Regions from separate parts of the Homo sapiens genome. Here region 1 is linked to region 2. The links are contacts of gene promoters, found by promoter capture Hi-C in blood cells and fetal thymus (Javierre and others, 2016). All regions are on one chromosome and are shown on one strand. Each heading gives the region's core, a stretch centred on a gene start or on the middle of the fragment in contact. The rest is flanking DNA. Distances are from core to core; before and after follow the strand shown. Region 1 holds the start of MARCKSL1 (MARCKS like 1). Region 2 holds the start of RNF19B (ring finger protein 19B).

What was found. Contacts are between HindIII fragments. The CHiCAGO score rates a contact against its expected background, and 5 or more counts as called.
Region 1: a contact is called between the fragment with the promoter of MARCKSL1 here and the fragment with the promoter of RNF19B in region 2, in 1 of 17 cell types (neutrophils). The highest score is 5.1, in neutrophils.

What each region holds. Positions count from the first base shown.
Region 1 is chr1:32,334,681-32,338,960 of GRCh38, forward strand. MARCKSL1 (MARCKS like 1) reads right to left here and starts at 1,553. Exons shown (of 2, transcript NM_023009.7): 1 at 1,267-1,553; 2 at 1-417. The coding sequence starts at 1,353. LOC124903949 (a long non-coding RNA gene) reads left to right here and starts at 697. Exons shown (of 2, transcript XR_007065661.1): 1 at 697-824. RefSeq lists silencers at 375-814, 955-1,034, 1,165-1,314, 1,335-1,864, 2,798-2,926 and enhancers at 1,206-1,775, 2,045-2,134. The HindIII fragment of the contact is 20,076 bases long and covers 1-4,280 here.
Region 2 is chr1:32,962,290-32,966,364 of GRCh38, forward strand. RNF19B (ring finger protein 19B) reads right to left here and starts at 2,520. Exons shown (of 9, transcript NM_001300826.2): 1 at 1,762-2,520. The coding sequence starts at 2,396. RefSeq lists silencers at 1,665-1,874, 2,235-2,804 and an enhancer at 2,115-2,619. The HindIII fragment of the contact is 3,974 bases long and covers 1-3,475 here.

The DNA.
Region 1 (4,280 bases), core at 303-2,802, 630 kb before region 2:
CTCTTCTTCTGAGGCTGCACTAGCCTCTGCCCCCTTGGCCTGGGGTTCCTGGCTCTCAGGGGTGGCTGCGGCCTTCCCTTCCTGAGCAGTGCCCTCGTCGCTGCAGGCACCGATCTCCCCCTGCTCCTGCTCTTCCTCTGTGGGTGAGGAGGCAGAAGAATCACCCCCACCCTCCTTCCGATTTCTCTTGAAGGACAGGCCGCTCAATTTGAAAGGCTTCTTGAAAGAGAATTTCTTCTTCTTCTTGGGGGTCTCCTTGGGGGGGACCTCCCCCTTGGCCTCAGCACCCTGGCTAGGGGGTGCTGGCTCGATGGCATCGCCAGTGGCCCCGGCTGCCTCATCTGTTCCGTTCACAGGGGGCGACTCCCCTTCACCCTTGGGGGATAAGTCTCCATTGCTTTTCACGTGGCCATTCTCCTGCAGGGCAGAGGGAATAGCAATGAGGGCAGGGGCTCCCCCTCCCCCAGCCCGCTTCTGATCCCTTCTAGAGGAAGGGGTCCTCGATTCGATTCTACTGCAACCCGAAAGTCTGGCTTCAGCCTCACCCACACCCAGGATCCCGTCAAACACCTCCCTCTCGCCCCTCACGGGCGCGCGGGGAGCGAGCGCGCAGAGGGCGCGACCGGCAGGAGGCGCTGGGGTCCCGTGGCCCCCACCCCCGTCCCCCGGGGCGCGCTCTCTATTCCGCGCGGAACCGCTCCGGATCTGCTGTGCGGATCCCGGGCAGGCGGGCGAGCCGCTCTAGGCGACATTGGGCGGGAAGCCGCCCCGGGGCGCTGTCTCTCTGCACCTGGACGGCCTATTTTCCCAGCCTCCCGCTTTGTGTAAGTGGCCCCCACCCACCCCAGGCTCTCCCGCATCTCGGCTCCCCCTTAAAAAAAAAAAGACCGTGGGCCACCGAGGTCGGGTCGGCGGGTGGAGTGCGCTCCCCGCCGGGCCCCAGCTCCGCGGCCCCTGGGCGCCCCCTTGGCGTGGCCCAGCAGCGCCTTTGTTCCCCGCGCGGCACTCGGGGCGGCCGGGGGGCAGCGCCGGGGACCGGGGCCGCGAACAAAGAAGGCGGCAGGGCCCGGCCGGCGCCCCCTCCCCGCCCCTCCCCTCGCTTCGCCCGCGGGGGCTGCGGCGCCGAGAACAAAGGGACCGGGCGGGGGAGGGGGCGCCGCGTGTCCCGGGCCGGACAAAGCGCGCGGCCCCGGCCCCGGCCCCGGGCCCTAGAAGGGGCGAGGTGCGAGAGGAGGGGCTGGGGCCGGCCGGGCCAAGCGTACCCACCTGGCCGTTGGCCTTCGCGGGGGAAGCGCCTGCTGCCTCCTCGGCGGTCACGTCGCCCCGGGGAGCCTTGGAGCTCTGGCTGCCCATGATGGGGGTCTGCTGGGGGGCGCTTGGAGCCGCCCCGGGCTCGCGCCGCAGGGGATAGTACGGCGGGGTCGGCCCGGCCGGCGGAGGGGTGGGGCTGGCGCCCGAGGGGGAGGGGTGCCGGGGGAAGCCGAGCTGCACCTCCGCTCCGCGGCCGACCCGCTAGCTGCGCCCGCCGCCGCTCCGCTCCGCGCCAGAATGCCGCCCGCCGCCCGCCGAGCTGCCTATATATAAGCGCCCGGAGCTCGGGGCGGGGCCGGACATTTAAATGCGCGCCCAATCGAGGGGCGGAGGCGGGGTTGGCTCGCAGGCCCCACTTGCGCAGCAGGCGACGCTGGCGGTCGGGTACCCCCCACCCCACCCGAATCCCAGGGGCAGGTAGAGTCCGGTGTGGGCAGGAGCGAGGCCAGTCCTCCCGCGAGCTGGGCGGGGCGGGGCGGGGGGCCTGGAGGAAGGAGACGGGCAGTCATTCCATCCTCTCCGCTCCACCTCTCCGGTGGGCGCCCCCGCAGCCTGGAGCGGCCCCCAACGCCTTGGTCCTGCAGCCGCTGGCAGTCTCCCGCTTGAACCCTTCGAAGGGCTCACACGACCAGGCTCGTCAGATGGCTGGTCCTGAATTATACTCTAGAAATGTGGTCATAGAAGCTGCAGGGCCCCTGCGCTGGGCTCGGCACCCGCTCCGGCCTGGAGAGCGGTCAGAGGTCCCACCCACGTCCCTGCCTGCCTGCCATGGCCAGCCGGGGAGCGGAGGGCTCTGCCTTGCCTCGGGGTCACTCTGGTCGGACTAGTGAGGCCTTTCCCTCATTCCTCCTTTCAGTCCCTTGGTGGCCAGTCATTCTGAGTGGGGACAGACAGATTCGCCTTGAGCCCCTCCTGCCCTCAGCCTGGACCCACTGCAAAGTCCCACGTGGGGGACTTTGTGACCTTGAAGGGCATCTCCATCCCCATTGAAAGGCCAAGGCTCAGAGGCATTGACAACCTGTCTGACTTGGCTCTGGTCCTTCCTCTTTACCTCCACACACAACTCTGCTCCCCTACATCAGGGTGCCCCAGGCCGGCAGAGGAACCCCAGCTGGGGACTCAACAAACCTCAAAACACCCCAGTTTCTGAAGGGGAGGGATAGGATGCTACCAAGGGTCCCTTCAAGGGACAGCCCCTTGAGGACAGCCCTCAAAGCTGCCCAGCCCAGCTTCCCACCCTGCCTGAGAGCAAGGGAGCCCGGAGGTGCTCCGGGCTGGAGACTCCCTAGCTTTGGTCCTCTGCCACCTCTCCTTCTGCTGGCCTGGATAGGCTGGTGGGAACCCCAGAATCCTGGCCGGCCCCGGATGTCTGTGTCCGGCTGCCAGCCCTCAGCCCCCAGGAGGAAAGGGATGGGGGCTGGAAGGAAGCAAAGTGTTGCAAATGCAAGGCTGTGTCCCAGCCAGCTCAGCAAGTCCCTCCCCTCCCTCCTACGGTGAAGCCTCCTGGGAGGCCTGAGGCTGTGAAGTGTGGAGACACCCCAGGGCCTGAGAAATTGGGAACTCCCCAGAGATCTGACCACAGAGGGGCGGGGAGGGCTGAGGTGGCTTCTGCATTCTGCACTCACTCCTGTATCCTCCATCCCCACCCCCACCCTGAGACTACAGAATACCCTCAGCTATCTCAGCTTCACTTGCCCCCCACCCCCGCCCCATTTCACAGACTGGGACCCTGAGGTTCAGGAAGAGAAAGTGACATGCCCAAGGGCACACAGCAGCTACCAGTAGCTGAGGGTGAGAAAAGGCTTGGAGAGGTTTGATAACATGGGCCAAGGGCTGTAAGGAATCCCCTGGCAGAATTTTCTGTTGAGATCTGGGGCTGCCTGGTCAGAGTGGGAGGCAAGGGCTAGCTTTGGGACGGGGAGAGGCACTGTGCCCCCACTGCAGCTCACTGAAAGTACCGTGACTTCTCCACAGCTTGCCACTAAGGGAAGGATGTCATGACCTGCTCTCTGTCTCAGCCACAATAGGGAACCCACAATGCTGCCAGGCGCTGCCCGCACCAGCTGGCTGGGCTCAGAGGGACGGAGGGTGTGTGAGTCTTGCACGGGTTGGGGTCAGAGGTTAAGAGCAGAACCTAAGGCTTCTGATCCCCAGGCACTGCCTGGCGGGGATGAGAGGCAAATCTTCCCAAGGATCCCAGGAGGGGCATCGAAGAGCATCAGGGTAAAAGACCCCAAGTCCCCAGAGCCCCAGAGGGAGCCTGGTCCCCAGGGGATGCCCTGTATCCCCACCAGACATCCCAGGAGGCTGGGGAGGGGGCGCCTGGGAGCCTGATCCCTCAGCAAATCCAGGTCCCAGCAGAATCTGACTTCTGGAAGAGGCAAGAGGTTTAGGATGCTTCAGGGTGGGGGTGGGAGGTTACAGCAGCCCCATGGCCTCCTCGGTCCACACTGCAGCTCCTTCCTCCCCAGCTGCTGCCAACCCAGACAATGCGCCCATTGTTCTGCGTCTCCGGGAGCCAGTGTGCAACTGCGTGTATCTGTTTCTCTCTGTGTGTGACTGTGTGTATTGCTCTGTGTCTGTGTGTGTGAGACTTTCTGGCTGTGTGTGTGTGTGCGCGTGTGCCCAGGTGTGCACATTTGTGGTTGCGTGCGTCTGGATCTTTGTTTGGCCCTGTATATTCAAGGGTGAAGGAGAGAGCCTGGTGATCCTGGTAACTGAGACTTGCTGGGTTTGTGCCTGCCCTTCCTTGAGACTGTTGGTGACTGTGTCTGACTGGGTGTGAAACTGAGTGTGTGGCTGTATGAGAGAATATCGATGGGCCGGGCGTGGTGGCTTCTCGCCTGTCATCCCGGTGCTTTGGGAGGCTGGGGCGGGAAGACTGCTTAAGCCCAGAGTTCGGGAATATCTGAATGTGTGGAGCAAAGAGCGGCTCCTTTATGTCTGGGTGAGTGTTCCTGTGGCGGTGG
Region 2 (4,075 bases), core at 1,270-3,769:
TGGTTAAGAAAACAGATCAACAGTATCTGTAAAACTTTAATATAAATTAACCTCAGAGGGCCAGTAAGATCACTAGACATAGACAGTTCCATGAACCTAAAAGGTCCTTCCTGATACTTATTAACTGAAAGTGAAAGTGAGCCACCATAAACACCATTCCTTTGACCACAACACTTCAAAGTAATTTAGAAACCCCATCTCAGTGAGGTTAAATAGCACACCCATTTCTAAACAAGTTTGGCAGAATTAAAAACAGAAGTTAACTCTTCTTACTCTCCTAGACACTCTAAGACAGCTCCTTTTGAAAGGAGACAACCAGCAGCATCATGGAGATTTCAAAACCACCTTGATATATAGGCTACAATTAAAAGTCCTTAACTCCTTTGAAGCTAAAGATCACACAACTTTTTACTAGCATTACGTTTACACACTGCAAGGACTCCCCAGCATCTTTTTGTCGCCAAAACATGACACACAAGAATAAAATTATCTGCCCAAGGTCACAGAACAGGTAATGGCTGTCTGACTCCCAACTACTTAAATGAGCCCCTCTTCCTGCGTGCAACCCCTTCATGGGATATACTGACAGTAACAATTAGACTTCTAAAGGCGGGGAGGGCGAGGAAGGTCTCCACTGAATGCTTCAGATAGCAAAATCTGGTGTATTATGTCTCTGCAGATATTGCATATTTTAATTTACTGCCCTTTAAAATTCAGCCTACATGGTGCATTAAAAAGACTGTCATCAAGAACTCAAGATCAAAGGGGTTCAGAAACACAATTTCTCCTATCACACCAACCTCTGGGCATTCTTCTCAGTGCCCCCATTGAGACTCTGGACAAAGAACATATCTGTCTACCCCTCACCCTACCCAAGGCAGCAAGGTAAGAACGACAGAGTGCCTCCCGATAGCGTGGCACAGAACACATAGTGCTCAGGGTACCCGAGAGCCTATTCCCCAGTCACCTCCATCCCAACTTTCAGCGGTGGTTGTCAGGGAGAACACGCCTTCTTCTGCAATGCTAAGTCTGTCCCTAGCCAAGTGGACACACCCCTCCGACGCGCTGCCCCCTCAGAATATTCTCATTCCCTCCTTGGCCAAATATCCCCTCCCCACTCTCATTAAGAGATACTCCCCACCTTGGCCGGGAGCGGTGGCTCACGCCTGTAATCCCAGCACTTTGGGAGGCCGAGGCAGGAGGATCACCTGAGGTCAGGAGTTCGAGACCAGCCTAGCCAACATGGTGAAACCCCATCTCTACTAAAAATACAAAGAAATTAGCCGGGTGTGGTGGCGGGCGCCTGTAATCCCAGCTACTCGGGAGGCTGAGGCAGGAGAATCGCTTGAACCTGAGAGGCGGAGGTTGCAGTGAGCCGAGATCGCGCCATTGCACTCCAGCCTGGGCGGCAGGGCGAGACTCCGTCTCCAAAAAAAAAAAGAAAAAAAAAAAAAGATACTGTCCTCACCTCCGGACAGAGGGCATTCCCCCAACAAAAAAACCGCCTCTCCCTGTCTCCTAACTTGGACAGCTCCCTTCCCCTCACCGAATGCTTAGCAGCCACCTCGAGCCCTGGGGCAGGGGGCGGGGTGTCGGGTGCGTTCACACCACTAGTCTGGGCTTGCCTGATGGTTACCACCCCGCCGAAGCTGCCGCCTTGCGGGTTTCCCTGCTTGGGACACCCACGCGGGGTCCCTGCTGCCCCCAGCCACGCCCCTCGGCTGCAGCCCGCCGCCACCCGCGCCACGCCCCCGCGCTCACCCGCAGTCCGGGGCCGGGCACCAGCGGCAGTCGGGGTCCGAGGCTAGGTAGCGGCGCAGCATGAACTCCTCGTACTTGTGCATAAGCGGCGGGTCGGCGAGCAGCAAGCGGATGTCGTGCGGGTTGAGTCGCTCGCTGCACTCGGGGCAGCTGATGGGCACCCTGCTCTCGCTTATCTCCAGGCGCAGGTAGTGGCGGAGGCAGTCCCGGCACGAGCGGTGCGGACAGCTGAGGAGGCGCGGGGCCCGCTCAGGCGGCAGCCGCACCAGGCACAGCGGACACTCCACCTCCTCCGCGCCCGGGCCACCGCCCTCCGCCGCCTCCTCATCGTCGAACCCAGGCTCCGCCGCCGCCGCCGCGGCCTCCGCCTCGGCCTCGGCGGCCGGCTCGGCGGGCAGCGCCTCGGGCGGCGGGCCCTGGGCCGCGGCAGGGGCCGGGGCGGGCGGCGGCTGCGCAGCCGGGGGCGGCGGCTCGGCCTGCGGCTTGGCCCGGGCGCGGCGGCCGCGGGCCGAGGCAGAGAAGACGCTGTGCAAGGTGAGGCGCCGGCGCCGGCCGCCGCTGCGGCACTTAGGGTCGGGTGCGGCCGCATGTAGCGATGTGGAGCGCGGCGACTCGGAGTCCTTCTCGGAGCCCATGGCCGGCAGAGGCCGAGGAGCCAGGGGCGCCCAGCGCCGCCACAGCTCCCGCCTCAGCGCCCCTCAGCCAGCGCCCGGCCGCCGCCGACGCCGCCACCACCGCCTCAACCGCCCTCCCGGCGATAGAAGCCGAGCGGCAACGACGAAGTGATTATAAAGCCTCCGCCCCGCGCGCCGCTGCCCTGCGCAGGCGCTTCGCTCAAACACCTCACAACCCTTGCGCCCCGGTCTAGGAGTGCGCTGGGCAGGGCCGAGCGGGGTGGGGCCGAGCGAGCTGGGGCGGAGCTCCGCCTCCTGCCGGTCAGGTGGTTCCAGGGCCGCCATGTTGCGGAGACTCTCAGAGATCCTAGCCCGCTGCTCTCCCTGGTCTCCGCCTCCAATTCCATCACCATGACACCCAAGGTGGACTTTTTGGTTTGCCGTTCCTCACAGGTTGATTGCCACTTCCAGTAAATGATGGTTCAGTTACATTATTTATAAAAAGCAGGCAGGGGTTGATCAGATGGTGACTCCCAACTGGTTCACCTTCCAACATTTCTGTTTATTAAGCAGACGGCATAAATTAATAAAGAATATATTCATTCACTGAGCTTCTACAAAGTGCGAGGCATTAGAAAATAAAACAGACAAGGTCCCCTATTGCAAGGGACTTCCAGAATAAAGTCCAAATTTCTTAGTCTAGCATTCAGTGTTCTCTATGTATTTAATAAACCCTATGTATATAATAGTCTATTTCTAGGCTCACTTACCATTCTATCCTCCTGGTATCTTGCTTACTTACCAAACTTGTGGAAGGAGACCCAGCGTTTTCTTGCCTGGCAGTGCCTTTGCCTTTCTTTTTCTAGTTCCCCATTCCTCTGACTGGGGGAGGATCTGGACCCTTAGGCTTCCTAGTGGGAGGCAGGCAAACAGCTTCAACAACAGGAATGTATCAGGATTACATTCAATTGCAAATAACAAAAGAAAAAAATAGCTTACGATTGAAATTTATTTATTTTTTTTCCTGAGACGGTTTTGCTCTGTCACCCAGGTTGGAGTGCAGTGGCGTGATCACAGCTCACTGAAGCCTCAACCTCCCAAGCTTAAGCGATCCTCCCACCCCAACCTCTGGAGTAGCTGGGAGCACAGGTGCGCCACCAGGCCTGCCTATTATTTTTATTTTTTTCATGGAGATGAAATCTCCCTGTGTTGCTCAGGCTGGTCTCGAGCTCCTGGGCTCAAGCGATCCTCCTGCCTTGGCCTCTCAAAGTGCTGGGATTACAGGCATGAGCCGCTGCACCTAGCCAGAAATTTCTCTCTTTCCATGAAATATAAGTCCAAAAGTAGGCAGTTCAGGGCTGTTCAGCCATCCTCAGTATTTGGCTTCCAGTGTTAAGGTCACCTCACTATGGTCCATATTCCAAACAGTGGGAAGGAAAAAGGGAAGAAAGATGCATCCTCTTCCTTTTAAGAAGACTGCCTTGGGGCTGGGCGCGGAGGCTCACGCCTGTAATCCCAGCACTTTGGGAGGCCCAGGCTGGCGGATCACGAGGTCAGGAGATGGAGACCATCCTGGCTAACACAGTGAAATCCCGTCTCTACTAAAAATATAAAAAATTAGCCGGGCGTGGTGGCGGGCGCCTGTAATCCCAGCAACTCGAGAGGCTGAGGCAGGAGAATGGCGTGAACCCAGGAGGCGG